2 separate regions of the Homo sapiens genome follow, and region 2 is linked to region 1. Evidence: promoter capture Hi-C in human tissues and cell types (Jung and others, 2019). All regions are on one chromosome and are shown on one strand. The core of a region is centred on a gene start or on the middle of the fragment in contact, and the rest is flanking DNA. Distances in the headings are between cores, read along the strand shown.

Region 1 (2,845 bases), core at 200-2,699:
CTTCACGTCCCCATCCCCAATTCCTCCGGGACTAAGAAAGCCCCCGGCTGCCGTGCACCAAGCTTCACGCCTCTGGTGTTGTTCAGTCCTCTGAAATGCCCTCCCAGACCCCGTCTCTTCCTCCTTCCCAAGGCCACATTCCAGCCTGGGCTCCCCGCTCCTCTGGGCCTGACCATCTTATATCTCCACCTGGCTCTGACACACTGTTACCGCCGTCGCCGTCACCTCAGGCATACGGCAGAAGCCATGTGAGAGTCTGAATTACTGAGAACCCTTTATCCACTTACGGGGATAACTGCATCTTCCTGGGAAATGTCAACTCAACTAAAAATAAAGTGCTTCCAGGACTAGCGGCCAGTCTCTACTCTTCATAAAGGGAAAAGGGCAAAAGCCCACTGAAGGTACTTAGGCTGAAAGCAGCCCTCTGTGCTGTGAGACACCTGGCAGAGAAACGAACGATACCTTTATCAGTGGGGCCACAGACCAGTACTAAGTCAGCCTGGAGAATTTATGATTTTATTGCCTATTTAGAATACGATCAAAACCGATGTAACTAGTTTCCCTTCAGCCCGTCAGTAACGCCTTCACCCCAGAGCTTAACACTAAATCCTACAGATAAGCGCTGACCTGGACGCAGGATGGGGACAGGGCACATTACTCTGGAATACAGCCCAACTCGCAGCGCTGTGGGGGCCGCGACTGCCCGCTTCCCCCAGATGCCAAGCAGGGGATGCGGACGAGATGCGGCCCGGGTGGCTCGAGGGCTGCAGCCCCCGCCCGGCCCCTCTCCCGCTCCCCCGACCCTCGCAGGCCCCAGGGCTCCGCCGCACCCCCCAGCACCCCGTCCCGGGCCCGACCCCGAGGCGCGACCCGTACCCCTCAGGGCCGCGGGTCGGGAACACGGTCCCCGCGGCCACCCGGGCCCCGACGGCCCTCCCCGCCCGGCCCTCAGCGCGGCCCCGCCCGCCCGCGGCCTTGACAGCCCGGAAGAAGCGGAGGCGGCGCTGCCCGGCCGTTCCCGCGCCACGCAGCCCTTCCTGGCACCTCGCAGCTCCGCTACGGCCGAGCCGCGGTCTCCCTCACGGCCGCGGGAAGGAGGACGGCGGGGCACGGGCGGCCGCAGGCGCTGCGCTCCGGCTCCGGGAAGCTGCAGCGAGCACTTCCGCTCCGTCCTCCGCGGCGCCGCCTCCAGGGCCCCCAAGATGGCGCGAGGGCGGGGCCAAGGGCTCCAACCATTTCCGCTTCCGGCGCAGACGCGCAGGCCGTTGGCGGGCGGGCCTCCCGGCGGAAGAGACGACAGCGGCGGAAACGCGCACAGGCGCAGCTGCGTCCTCTGGCTCCGGGCCCGGCTAGCTTCGCTCCAGAGATTGCGCGGGCTCAGGGACTAGGCCCGTGGCCACACCCCCCCTTGCGACAAAGACCAATGGAAGCGGGCGTTGCTGGTCGCTAAGAGAACCCTCGGCGGCAAGATGGCAGCGGCGGGCGAGGGCACCCCGAGCTCCCGCGGGCCGCGTCGGGACCCGCCTAGGCGGCCGCCCCGGAACGGTAACGACTGCGGGCCACGGGACAGGTCGCTGGCTGCCCTGGGCTCCATTCAGGGTGCGATCGCTCTACGCCCTCGACCCCCAAATGCTCACCTCGGAAAGTAGAGGTCCAGGTGCCGCGGCGGAGCCAGGGCCGCCCCCGCGTCCCCCACTCCCACAGGACTCGCCGTGCGCCTCGGGCTCGGCTCGCACCCTTCCCCGAGCCCTCCTCCCGCAGCAGGCCAAGCCCTGCAGGGGGTCGCCCCCCGCGGGCTCCTAGCCGGGAAGACCGGGTTCCGGCCGCAGCCTCACAGCCAGCGGGACCTGGGGTTGCCATGGGGATCCCGAAGCCCAGGACTTGGGGCGAGGGCAGGCGCAGGAGCAGCACCAAGCCTCCTGACTTCCTGGCCGGTGCTGTCCAGAAACGCTAGGACGCGTTTCAAAAGCAGTTTTTGCCTGTACTTCCAGCACTTTGGGAGGCCGAGGCGGGTGGATCACCTGAGGTCAGGAGTTCGAGACCAGTGTGGCCAACATGGCGAAACCCGGTCTCTACTAAAAAATACAAAAATTGGCCCGGGGTGGTGCCTCCTGTAGTTCCAGCTACTCGGGAGGCTGAGGCAGGAGAATCGCTTGAACCCAGGAAGCGGAGGTTGCAGAGAGCCGAGATCGCGCCGCTGCACCCCAGCCTGGGCGACAGAGCAAGACTCAGTCTCAAAAAAAAAAAAAAGAGCAGGTTTTGATAGGAACTGTTTCTAGAATCAAATAAACGGGTCTGGAATGAACTCAGAGCTAACACTACTATCTTCAGGTAGAACCTGACCCTGATTTGGGACAGATACAGTAGCCTGTAGTAACCCCCTGCCCTCCTCCCCGACATTTTCCCATAAACCCTGCCCACAAAATGTGCCTGAGGAGCTGGTAGGGAGGGAGCCCTGCCCATTCCTGGAACTGCAGGAGTTGGCGGGTGGCACACCCAGCAACTAGGAGGAGATGAAGCCGGCCAGGCCATCCTTGGGTATGAGTGTGGATTTTCTCCCCAGCGATAGGAGGCCACTGAAGGGCCACGGCAGGGGATGGGAGAGTCTGCTCCTCCCCTGTGTGCCTCACTGACACTGCCGCTCTGCCTTCCCCTGGCTCACTCATCTCCTGCAACAAGGCTCCCAACCTGCTCCTCACCACCTCCCGAGCACCTCTGGTCTCTCAAGGACCTGCAGTTGTTTCAAGCCAGCCCTCCTCTTACTGGGCCTGTCTTCTCTGCACCAAGTAGGTCCTCATCCTTGTCACATAAACAAATGAGCAAATGAATGGCCCAACAGTCGACA
Region 2 (2,845 bases), core at 208-2,707, 1.3 Mb before region 1:
GGGCTTCCAGGGCCCTCGACCACGTACACCAGGCCCTGGCTAGGGGACCCGACATGCTGGGCGAGTTCCGAGCGGCTCTCAGTGGCGGCGCTGCTTATGGTCTGATGCTTATGGGGCCCGTGATCTGGCTCCGAACCGATGTCCTCTGCCCATGGTGACCCCCACGTCTTGGAAAGTCGCGTCAGTGAAGCCCGTGGCTTCGCGAGCGAGCCGGGCTGGCGCAGACTGGGTTCTCTGGCCGCAGCGGGTCCGCGCCTGACGGGGAGGGTCCGGCTGACTCGCACATCTTCATGGCTCACCCACTGTTTGCTGGGCGCACGGGGTGGGGACCCAAAGACGAATCCCATGCAGAGGTTTGGGTCTAGTTTTGGCAACAGAAAAGGCCGGCACCGCCGGAGTAGGACGCGCGCGCACCACCATCCATTCGGCCGGGGAGGTTGGGGCGTCCGCGGGGAGCAGACCCGAGGCTGGGCGCCCGGAGGTACGAGCAGGACCCTGGCCGGCTCTCAGCTCCCAGAACCCAGGGCCAGGCGGGGATGTCAGGGTCTGCGCGATCTGGGGGGCCCTAGAGGCGCCGGCGGGGCCTGGCGCGGACTACTAGCGGCCTGCGGGAGCCAGGGGTGGAGGGGGCCGCTGTCTAGGGAAGAGGACCGGGGTCCGGAGTGGGGGTGAGAACGAGGCACGCCCCTGAGCCTGCGAAACCTGCGGACCGAGCGCCCGCGCAGGAGCTCGCTCCCTCTGGGCCCCCAGGTCCCAGACCCGCACGATTCTTCGCCCGGTGCCAGCCCAGATGCGCGCGGGTGATGAACGGGCGGTGGCCGCGATCCACGCGCTCGCTCTGCCCAGTCAGCGGCAAATTCGTTCTCTCCTTGATCTCAGTGGCACTGGAGCGTGAGGCAAGGGCCAGGCGGCAGGTAGAGGGGTCGGACTCAGCAAAAGCAAACAAAACCCCAAGCAAACGAAATAAATACTTATACATTACATACACGATATAATATATGTGCGACAGACACCGTATTACTTATTAAAGATATATTTGTAGGTAAACATATATTTACATGTAAACATACATTTACATATAAATATAAATATATATATATGCATGTGTACACACACGCAGACACACAGGTCGCTCAATTAAATTTGAATTTCAGACTAGCGAGTAATTTTTCCGTATTAGCATGTCCCGTGCAATATTTGGGAACATACTTATAACTAGATTTGTTGTGAATCTGAAATTCAAATTTTACTGTGCTTTCTACATTTTTATCAGCAGCCCTAGCTGGAGGTGCTCAAAGGCCTCCCGGCCTTTGAGGTAAGGTTCTCGGGTCGGAAATCCCTGGTCGGAAGAAACGTGGGCGTTTCCTTTAAAGCCCTGCGGCACAAGAACTACAAGCCCCACAATGCCGCGCGGAAGCCGGCGGCGCTGATAGGCTGCAGTTCACTTCCGCCTTCTGACTTCCGGCCTCGGAGGCCGGCGTCGGCTGTTGCAGCCTGCTGCGCGCCCAGGGGTCCCGCGGGTTTTCGGGCGCAGGGTGGCGCCCGCGGCAGGCGGCGGCCATGAACTTCTCCGAGGTATTCAAGCTCTCCAGCTTACTCTGCAAGTTCTCCCCGGACGGCAAGTACCTGGTGAGCGGCGGGGACCTGGGCCACGGGCAGGACATCCTCGGTGCCAGCGTCCCCGGCGGGCAGGGCCGGGGGCGGCCGCGTGGGTGGAGGCAGCTTGGGGATCCTGCAGGTGCGGTGCCCGGACAGGTGCGGGGCCCGGGCAGGTACCCGGGGCAGGTGCAGTGTCTGAGCAAGTGCCCCAGACAGGTGCGGGACCCAGGAAGATACCCTAGACAGGTGGAGGGCCCGGGGAGGTGCCCCAAGCAGGTGCGGGGCCCAGGCAGGTACCCCAAGCAGGTGCGGGGCCCAGGCAGGTACCCCAAGCAGATATGGGGGCCGGACAGGTGCAGGACCCCGGCAGGTGCCCGGGCAGGTGCGGGACCCAGGAAGATACCGTAGACAGGTGGGGGGTCTGGGGAGGTGCCCTTGGAAAGGTGGGTATCGGCAGTGCCGACTGCACACAGGTGAGGGTATAGGAGATGTCGGCTCTTTGTTGTTACTTTGTCACAAAAGGCAAATTGATGATTCTGTTGCCTGTAAACTGGTAAGTGGTGTGGCTACTTTGTCATCTCTACTTCTCCTCTAATTCTCTTCTCCTCTACCACATGCCGAATAAATGATTTAAATACTAGTATTCTATCCCCAGGTAAGGAAGTAGTTGTCCTCATGGCTGGGATTTGAGGTCTTCGTTCCATGGGTGGCAGAAGGGTGCTTAAATCACAGAGCTATAACTTTAAGCTTCAAAACATATAGTGTATGTACCTGGATGCCTAGTAGTGTATATCCTCAGAAGAGAGGGATAACCCGGATGCCTAGTATGTATGTCCTCAGAAGAGGGGGACAATTGGCATTGGAAAGCCACTAAGAAGAAACATGCCTCGTAAAAAGTGGGCTTCGTTTTCCTTATCCACCACCTGTACTAACTGACTGATGTATCATGATGCTTTTTCAGGTTTTGCCACTCCTGACATTCCTGTGCTCTGTCTAGCTTTTGAGAGTTTAACTCTCAAATTACGTTTTTTACCTCTTCAGGGAGGTTTTATTCCAAATCACATAAAATAGCATCAGCTACAAAACAGAAAACCTCATTAGTTTAAATGGCATCTCAGCCTTGGTATATTTTCAATGTGCCCCCCTCCTCAATTAAATGAGAGGTTTGTTTTTTGTTTTTACCATTTATGAAAATTTCAGTGAATTATAAGGAGAAAGATTACATCTGCTTGCTTAACTTGGGTGT

Evidence for each region. Contacts are between HindIII fragments. The study calls those that stand out against the background at their distance.
Region 2: a contact is called between the fragment with the promoter of WRAP73 here and the fragment with the promoter of MORN1 in region 1, in 1 of the 25 tissues and cell types used here (lymphoblastoid cells).

The regions. Positions count from the first base shown.
Region 1 is chr1:2,390,158-2,393,002 of GRCh38, reverse strand. MORN1 (MORN repeat containing 1) reads left to right here and starts at 1,449. Exons shown (of 14, transcript NM_024848.3): 1 at 1,449-1,545. The coding sequence starts at 1,470. RER1 (retention in endoplasmic reticulum sorting receptor 1) reads right to left here and starts at 1,162. Exons shown (of 7, transcript NM_007033.5): 1 at 1,045-1,162. RefSeq lists silencers at 877-1,176, 1,277-1,386, 1,517-1,586, 1,747-1,876 and enhancers at 418-1,290, 1,159-1,453. The HindIII fragment of the contact is 12,081 bases long and covers 1-2,845 here.
Region 2 is chr1:3,648,715-3,651,559 of GRCh38, reverse strand. It overlaps WRAP73 (WD repeat containing, antisense to TP73), which reads left to right and starts at 1,457. Exons shown (of 12, transcript NM_017818.4): 1 at 1,457-1,629. The coding sequence starts at 1,561. RefSeq lists an enhancer at 393-1,236. The HindIII fragment of the contact is 14,524 bases long and covers 1-2,845 here.